Linked DNA regions of Homo sapiens: all the other regions are linked to region 2. The links are contacts of gene promoters, found by promoter capture Hi-C in human tissues and cell types (Jung and others, 2019). All regions are on one chromosome and are shown on one strand. The core of a region is centred on a gene start or on the middle of the fragment in contact, and the rest is flanking DNA. Distances in the headings are between cores, read along the strand shown.

What was found. The method cuts DNA at HindIII sites, captures the fragments that hold promoters and counts their contacts. A contact is called where the count stands out against the background at its distance.
Region 1: a contact is called between a fragment that was not itself captured here and the fragment with the promoter of SAMD5 in region 2, in 1 of the 25 tissues and cell types used here (mesendoderm cells).
Region 3: a contact is called between a fragment that was not itself captured here and the fragment with the promoter of SAMD5 in region 2, in 1 of the 25 tissues and cell types used here (IMR-90 fibroblasts).

The regions. Positions count from the first base shown.
Region 1 is chr6:147,786,859-147,789,992 of GRCh38, reverse strand. It overlaps a transcript of SAMD5 not described here. Among named protein-coding and RNA genes, the nearest start is that of SAMD5, 280 kb to the right of the region's middle. The HindIII fragment of the contact is 5,197 bases long and covers 1-3,134 here.
Region 2 is chr6:147,506,955-147,510,048 of GRCh38, reverse strand. It overlaps SAMD5 (sterile alpha motif domain containing 5), which reads right to left and starts at 1,359. Exons shown (of 2, transcript NM_001030060.3): 1 at 662-1,359. The coding sequence starts at 1,120. The HindIII fragment of the contact is 17,257 bases long and covers 1-3,094 here.
Region 3 is chr6:147,927,577-147,930,597 of GRCh38, reverse strand. It overlaps a transcript of SAMD5 not described here. Among named protein-coding and RNA genes, the nearest start is that of SASH1, 410 kb to the left of the region's middle. The HindIII fragment of the contact is 4,328 bases long and covers 1-3,021 here.

The sequences.
Region 1 (3,134 bases), core at 517-3,016, 280 kb before region 2:
CTCCCACCAGCAATGAATGAGAGTTCCTGTTGTTCTGTATTCTTGGCAATGATTAGTATCGTCAGGCTTTTGGATTTTAGCCCTTCTAATAGATGTGTTGTGGTACCCTGCTGTAGCTTTAATTTATATTTCCTTAATGAGAAAACCACCACACAAATCCCAATTGAAGGACATTTTGTTTACAAAACACCTAAGCAGTACTCCTCAAAACCGTCACAGTCATCAAAAACAAGGAGGTCCTGAAAAACTGCATAGCTAAGAGGAGCCTGAGTAGACCTGATGACTAAACACAATATGGCGTCCTGGGTGAGATCCTGGAACAGAAAAAATCAACGAAATCTGATACAGTATGGACTGTAATGATAATAACAATGTATCAGCATTTCTTCATTAATTACAATAAATGTGCCAAGACATGTAAGATATTAATAATAGGGGAAACCCATGTGGACCATATAGAATAGCACTCTTTTTGCAACTTTTCAATAAATCTAAAAATATTTTCAAATAAAATGCTTACTTTACATATCATCCTCCTAAAAAATAACTCTCAAAAATTAAAAAAATATATCTCTGGGCAGGGAGATGGCAGAAGCATGAATAGGAAGTGCTGTTATAAAGTTATGGCACTTACCTGTATGTATGTGTGTGCGGTAGTGTTTTGGGTTTTGACTGTGTGTGTGTGTGTGTGTGTGTGTGTGTGTGTGTGTGTGTTTTTCTAGAGACTGGGTCTTATGCCATCGTCCAGGCTGCAGTTCAGTGCAGTGGCATCATCCTTGCTCACAGTAAGTTTGAACTCCTTGGGCTTAAGCAATCCTTCTGCCTCAGGCTCCCAAAGTGCTGGGATTACGGGCATGACCCAGTGTGCCTGGATGGTGGTGTTTTTTTTTTTGTTTGTTTGTTTGTTTTTTGAGACAGTCTCCCTCTGTCACCCAGGCTGGAGTGCAGTGGCGTGATCTGGGCTCACTGCAAGCTCCACCTCCCAGGTTCACACCATTCTCCTGCATCAGCCTCCCGAGTAGCTGGGACTACAGGCACCTGCCACTACGCCCGGCTAATTTTTTTGTATTCTTAGTAAAGATGGGGTTTCACCGTGTTAGCCAGGATGGTCTCGATCTCCTGACCTCGTGATCCTCCCGCCTTGGCCTCCCAAAGTGCTGGGATTACAAGCATGAGCCACCGCATCCGTCCTGGTGGTGGTTTTTAATAGGCCTCAAATCAAAATTTATAAAAGAAGTGACTTTTGCCACTCACTGGCAAGCATCATCACACCTCCATTAGCCAAGAGCTAATATTCACATAGTACTTAATATTTTCTAGAGCTATTCTAAAAACTTCACTCATATTCTTAACCACTACGCTATATCAACTATTGGAAGTGGCTACATTGACTCGGAAAATCTTATTTTGAAAGTATAGACTTTTATCCACAAAAGCATCAACTCTTGCAGGTACAAGCACAGATGTGTTTCTATATTTAAAAAGAAAAATATTTGTATTTTTATAGCCACATTTAAAAACATCTATAATCCTCATGGGAAAAAATGCAAATACTTCACTATTAATTTTGTAGCCTACTTTCAATTTTCTCTCAATATAATATTCAAGTTCATGTATATGATGTTTTATTCAAGAAAGTAATATGCCAAACTCTTCAGTAATTTCTGTTTACATTTATTAGTGGTATAAACTCTCTGTAGCTGTCACTAGCTTTCAAAATAATGTAGGTAGCCTTAATTATACGTGCAATATGTATACTGAAATATCCATAGGATTCTGTTTCAATGTAAACATTTTACCTTAAATATTTTGAAAACAAAAGATTTAGAATTGTAAACCTTCAGGGCAGACATCTGTCAGTTCAGTGTCTGCCATTTCCAATAAACCCACCCATGCAACTCCAATTCCTTAATCAAATAGCAAGCTCAGCTGTTTGGGTTGACATCCAAGCAGACTTTTTCAAATTACTGTCTCACATTAAAAGAAAAGCCTTATTAACCATTCACCGAATACTTATGCAACCCTTGATGTAAGCCAAATATGTTCTCCTTTGACAGCTGACAAAGAAGCCCAAAAGATACCTTTAAATGGCCAAATGAGCCTTGGCGCTACGGAGCTACTGATAGTACACGTAACTCATTCTGCCTTTACTGTAAGAATGTTGTGTTGGAAAAGGATACAATGACACTTTGCAATCCAGTGCCAATGCATCTTTTCCAAATCTTTTTTCGGTACTCCATGCTTGACCAAGCAGGGAAAAGAAAATTTGCATCACACAGAAGCAAGAACGAGGCTTTCATATATTTGTCTCATAACATTTCATCTTAATACAAATTGTCCACAACAGTCACTGCAGAAAATTGCTCTCTGTTTGCTGCCACCACCAGGATGCCATCATTACTGACAAGATTGAGAAACCTGTCAGTGACAATTCAGGACTGAGTCCAATTGTGGCATCCATGTGAAATGCAAGTGGATTTTTTTTAGGGCTCTATTTGTGGATCTCTTTAATTCTTATTCATGTCTACTGGTCTTTGACTTACATGGAAACTCAATGCAATAAAGGCTTCAGCTCAAATTATTTCAATTTCAGAAATTATCAAAAAGTAAGATTTATAAAGTAATTTTTTAAAACTCTCCGTGACTACCGCAGGTGAGAGAAATACACTTTGAGGACTTTGCATCTGTGCTATCTAGAGGCACTGTCCTGCTCCATCATGGAGGACAGCCATTCTATTTCAAGTTAACGAGGCTTAATTCCATTTCCATGGGCAATTGGAAAGAAAAAATTAGCCATTTCATTGAGAGATTTCTGTAACAAAACTCTTTATGATTGGAGCCCACCCCACAAATTGTAGGTCCTTTTTATGGACATACAAATAGATTTTTCAGGATAATTTTTGAAGGTTATTTGTTTAACATTACATCACAACTTCTGGCTAAACTCCTTATACTTATAGACTTCCTGTCATAAATTATTTTTCTCCTCCAATGCACTTTAATGAAATTACTTAATTCTGTATGCAAAGTATTTAACCAAGGTGAAAGACAAATATCCTTGCAAATCTCAAAATTCTAAGAAGTCAATGTGACTGCAGAGTGTGGCTGGTCATGCCTTGTAGTTAAACTATCAA
Region 2 (3,094 bases), core at 110-2,609:
TGGCCCGATTATCTCTGATGTCCTTAGCACCTTATTGCCTCCAGTATACACAAGTTTAGGAAATCATCTCAAGTGGACTGACACGTGCTTCCTTCACTTTTCCTCTTAAAATGCTCATGTGAATGGTAAGCTTCTCAAATTTGCAGCAGCGCTGGGATTTTTTATGGAATTGAGAAAGGCAGGGCCTGACTTTCCACTCTTTAAAGAGTTCACCGATTTCCCTTAGGAGTTTCTCAAGACTCAAAAAAGGAAAAGAAAGAGAAAAAGGAAGGTAGAAAGCAATGTAGGTATTAACCATTTTTTCTGGTACTCTTCAAACCCAAAACTACTATAGAGGGCGTTAGGAATTCCCCCTGGCTACCAGGTGAAGCAGCGCGAGTCCGATTCCTGACAGGCGAGCACCAGAGAGGATGCGGAGTTTTGGTCGTTAGTTTAGAGATAACATCTGGATGCGGGGGCTTGTCTTACCAACCACTGGAGACACCAGGAAGGACGAAATAATGGGCTAATACAGAAAGAACATAGAAAAGGGTCCCAGATACCCAAAGCCTCCTGGCCTCTCCGTCGTCACCTGGAATGGGTTGCAAAGCCTTGGCACAGGCAGCTGGGCTGTGTCCCCTCCCGCCGCGCGCCCCGGGCCGCCCGGACGGCACCTCCTTACCTTGCGGGAGTACGGGGGCTTGCTCAGGTGGATGCCGTCACGGACGAGCTTATCCCTGATCATGATCTTCAGCTTCAGTTTGGGGTAGCTCACCAGCTCCCTGCTGCGGGGGGCGGTCGTGTGGCCGCGAGAGTCCCCGCGGGTGCCCTGGGCCGGGCCGCCGCACGGCTCCCCCCGGCGGCCGGTGGGGACGGCGTCGGCGGGCGGCCCGGGGGGCGCCGGCTGCGGCTCAAGCGTGAAGTAGAGGCCGGCGGCGTTGGCGTCCTGCTCCCGCAGCCGGCGCACGGCCTCCAGGATACGGCGGCGGTGCGCGGGCGCCAGCACCCCGATGGCATCCAGGTCCGGGTCCCCGATCTGCTTGCACACCTCCAGGTCATCGTAGCCGTTATCCACGAAGGACTCCGCGTACTGCGGAAGCTGCAGCGCTTTGAGCCACTCGTAAACTATGTTGGTGCACATGGTGGGACCGGGAACCCCGCCGCCGAGCACCTTCCCAGCGCCCAAATGGCACGGGCGGCACCAGTTCTTGGAACTTTTAATCCTCTCCTCCAAGGGGAAAAGGGTATCGCAGTAAAGTTTTCCTTTTAAAGGAAAGGCTCGGGCAGGAGACGGAAAACCATCAGAAGAAGCCTGAGGAAGGGAGAAGCGAACAAGCAGCAAAGTGAATTCCCCAAGCAGCAGCGGAGCTCGCAGGCACTGGCTGCTGGGCTGAGCAAGGCTCCGCGCCGCCCCTGGATGCGCCGCCGACGCTGCCGCCGCGGGGAGGGGCGCGCGACTGGCGCGGGAGGGGGCGGAGACGGGAGGGGCCGGGGCACACCCCTCGGACCTGCGCCGGGTCAGCGCTGCGCAGTGCCGCCCGCGAGTTTTCCCAGCCGGGACGGTCCGGCGGCTGCGCGCCGCATCTCGCGCTCTGGCAGCCGCCGCCGCCGCTGGCGCGCTCCGCGCCGCGAGGCGACTTCTCCACGCAGACCCGCGGCCGCTGGGAGCGCCTAGTCTTCGCGAGTGTCAGTCACTGTAGTCCTCCCGGCGGGAAGCCGGTGGCTTCTACGCTGCTGGGCTCCGTTGGCTGCCCTGGGTTGCTTTTCACATTTCTGTTTAATCTGACTCTTCTACCCGTGGAAGTCTGTGCTCACTTCTTCCCGACCCTGCCGGACTCCAGCTTCCGCGCCCGCTGGCAGCCCAAGGACACGTCCCGCCGCCCCACGGCGCTGGGGACGCTGCGGGGTTCAGTGTCCCTTCCTTCCGGATCCGCGTTTGAATCCCCCTTCCTCGGATCCCGTACGCAGCCCAGAGCCCGGCGATCTGACTTCTTCCGTGGGCGGCCACTCAGTGACCCGAGCGGCGGCGTTTTGGCCCGGAGGGTGGGCGCAACGTGGGGACCGCCCGGGTCCAGCCGGCTTGCGCGCCGCCCCTCCTCGCTGCAGCTGGGCACGTTGGGCGGCAGGAGAGGCTGCTGTCTTCCTGGCTCTCCCTTCCTAAGCTCCCGGGTCTGCGAAAGTTTGGGGTGGGTTGTACTTTCTCCTAGGTCAGTGTGTCCCACCCGGTACCCCACCCTCCTTTCTGCCCGGCCCCTCCCCCTCGTCGGCGCTATGCTTTCTCTCCGGGCCCCCCACCTAGTATACTGCACGGGCTCCCGGGGTGGCTTTGCCCCCGGGGACACTGCCAGGCGTTCGGTCCTGGAGCCCGGGAATCCGAGCCTATCCTCTCGCTCCCGCCCGGGGATCGCGTGAAAATCAATAGAGCACCACCCAGCTCGTGTTGGAAGGGACGCTCAGACATCTCCGCCCACGGCATTTTCCCTCTAGGAGGTAACAAAATCAATCGAGTTTCCCCATCATGCCAATGTCTGAGCAGCCTCTTGGGACTGGGGACTCGAGTGGCAGGTGGAACAGACCAAGCGCCTGGGCCCCATTTCCCGGTGTCTGACCTCTTCTTGGGACTAAGGGAAGTGAGGGACGGCGGGGGCAGGTACTGTCTCCTCTCTTTCCGCAGAAGGGCGATTCAGCTTCGCACCTGAGCTGTTTAAGGACCAGATCTGACCTTTTTTTCTGAAGATTGCCCGTGGGGCGTGCCAGTCTCTCGCCCGACCTTGGGAAGTGGACAAGGAGTGATTTCAGAGTCGTTTCTCGACCTGCTGTGTGTTTGGCATTTGGGTGGGTGGTTAGGTGGGCCCTCTTATCCTAAACCAAGAGAGCTTAACCCCCTCTTGGGACACGAACCCCTTAAAGAATCAGATGACAGCTTCTGTCCTTTTGCCCAGGAAAATACCCGACATAGGCGCACCCAAAACGTTCCCTACAGTCGCAGGGGGGTTCTGGTTTCCCAAACCCCGGGACTCACGAATCTCAAATTAAGGACAGCTGGCAGAAAGGACTGTCTGCTTAGGGGGAGGGGAGAGACCAACGCGGAGAGCCGGTGGAGCTGCTTGTGGCC
Region 3 (3,021 bases), core at 298-2,797, 420 kb before region 2:
TACCAACTTCTCTAAAAGCCATGCTTCTATCATTCTCCAGCTTATAGATGGACTATCCTGGTACTTTTTCATCCTCTGAGCCAATTCTCCCTAATAAATTCCCTTTCTTTATATATTATAGAAACGTGTGTCAGGAAACCAATATGTTTCCTATTGGTTCTGTCTCTCTGGAGAGACTGACTGAAAATCGGTATGAGGAGTGGCTATAAAGACACTTGAAAATGTGGAAGTGGCTTTGGAACTGGGTAACAGGCAAAGGTTGGAAGAGTTTCAGGACTCAGAAGAAGACAGAAAGATGAAGGAAAGTTTGGAACTTCTTAGAGACTAGTTAAGTGTTGTAACCAAAATGCTGATAGAAATACAGATAGGAAAGGCCATGCAGAGGAGGTATCAGATGGAAATGAGGAACTTATTGGGAACTGGAGCAAAGGTTGCTCTTACTAGGCATAGCAAAGTACTTGGCTGCCTTGTGTCCATGCACTAGAGTTTCGTGGATGGCTGAACTTAAGAGGGATAATCTAGGGTATATGATAGGAGACATTTCTAAGCAGCAAAAGGTCTATGACATTTAGTGGACAGATGCCAGGGATGCTGCACAATCTACAGTGTGTAGGAGAGTGCCATACAATAAAGGATTTTTCCTCACATACATTTTAAATGCTGTACCAGACATTTATGTAGGTGAAAACTGGTTTGTAACTAACTTAACCCAGAATCAAACTATTTCAAACATAAATTACTTTTGGCTAAGTTTTCAGCTACACTAAATTTTCTAGGAATTTAAGTACTGTGTGTATCAAAGGAGAGCTGTACTTTCCCCCCCAATGTTACCAAGATTTGTTCACCAATTCAGAAAATCCCATCAACAGTGATAATCCAGTAGCAGAATATAAGTTGCCAACATAACCCAACTGCATCAGTCTGCATTTGTAGATGTCATTCTACATACAAGTGTGACCATCTGACATAATTATGCCCACCAGTGATGCCATGTCTAAGCATTACAGATTGCAATGCATATTATTTTATTATAATTTTTCCTTTTATTTCTTCATTTTGGTAAGTTTTAGTTTGGTTTTTAAAAATATATGCATGTTAGTTATATCATTTATGAATTACATTTCAAGGTGAGAAAGATAAAATTAGAAAATATTTATATTAAAACGGGGTGTTAGGTGTGATAGGGTTGAGACCCACTGGTGTAAATAAAATAGTGCATCAGGAGATTTGGTTTCCTGCTGTCTTGGCCAACCATTATGTGGCCTTAGAGAAGTGATGTTATTTCCCTGTGTCCACTCAATGGAAATGATTGGCTGAACTATGTCTCTTACAGCACCTTCTAATTTTAAATCTTGACTACCTGACTTTGACACCAGTTTAGGTTTGGGAATATTTAAACCCATTAAAAAAGTGAAGACAACTGAACTTACTGGGCAAAGTAAGTATTTTGGAACCAGGACAGTGTGGTTCTTTGTGACACATATGTTGAATGCATTTGAGTGACTGCTCTAGTTAAAAGACTACCATGAAAAACAATCCTCAGCAAATGCAAAAGAACCAAAATCACCACAAATGTACTCTTGGACCAATAAAAATAGAAGTCAAGACTAAAAAAAAAACACTCAAAACCACATAATTATATGGAAATTAAACAACATGCTCCTGAATGACTTTTGGGTAAATAATGAAATTAAGGCAAAAATCAAGCAGTTATTTGAAACCAATGAGAACAAAGATACAACATACCAGAATTTCTGGGACACAGCTAAGGCAGTGTTAAGAGGGAAATTCATAGCACTAAATGCCCACATCAAAAAGTTAGAAAGATCTAAAATTAACAACCTAACATCACAACTGAAAGAATTAGAGAAGCAAGAGGAAACCAAGCCCAATGCTAGCAGAAAACAAGAAATAACCAAAATCAGAGCTGAAATGAAGGAAACTGAGATACGAAAAACCATTCAACATATCAATGAATCCAGGAGTTGGTTGTTCAAAAAAATAGTAAGATAGGCCACCAGCTAGACTAATAAAGAAGAAAAGAGAGAAGAACCAAATAAATACAAATAGAAATGACAAAGAAGATGTTACCACGGATGCCACAGAAATAAAAATAACTATCAAAAAGTATTACAAACACCTGTATGTGAAAAAACTAGAAAACCTAGAAGAGGTGGATAAATCCCTGGAGACATTCATCCTGCCAAGACTGAACCAGGAGGAAATTGATTCCCTGAACAGACCAATAATGAGCTCTGTAATTGAATCAGTAATAACTAGCCTACCAACTAAAAACCAAAAAAGCCCAAGATCAGATGGATTCACAGTGGAATTCTACCAGATGTACAAAGAAGCGCTGGTACCATTAATACTGAAACTATTTCCCAAAACTGAGGACTCCTCCCCAACTCATTCTATGAGTCCAGCATCATCCTGATTCAAAAACCTGGCAGAGACACAACCAAAAAAAGAACACATCAGGCCAATATCCTTGATGAACATTGATGCAAAACTCCCCAACAAAATACTTGTAAATTGAATCCAGCAGCACATCAAAAAGTTTATCCACCACGATCAAGTAGGCTTCATCCCTGGGATGCAAGTTTGGTTTAACACGCACAAATTAATAAATGTGATTCATCACATAAAGAGAACTAAAGACAAAAACCACACAATTATGTCAATAGATACAGAAAAGGCTTTAGATAAAATCTAACATTTCTTCATGTTAAAAATTCTCAGTAAACTAGATATTGAAGGAACATACCTCAAAATAATAACAGTCATCTATGACAGACCTACCACCAACATCATACTGAATGAGGAAAAGCTGTAAGCATTCCCCTTGCAAACTGGCGCAAGACCAGGGTGCCCTCTCTCATCACTCCCATTCTACATTGCATTGGAAATCCTAGCCAGAGCAATCAGGAAAGAGAAAGAAATACAGGCATCCAAGTAGGAAGAAAGGATGTCAAACTATCCCTGTCTGCAGATATCTACGTGATTCAATATCTAGAAAAC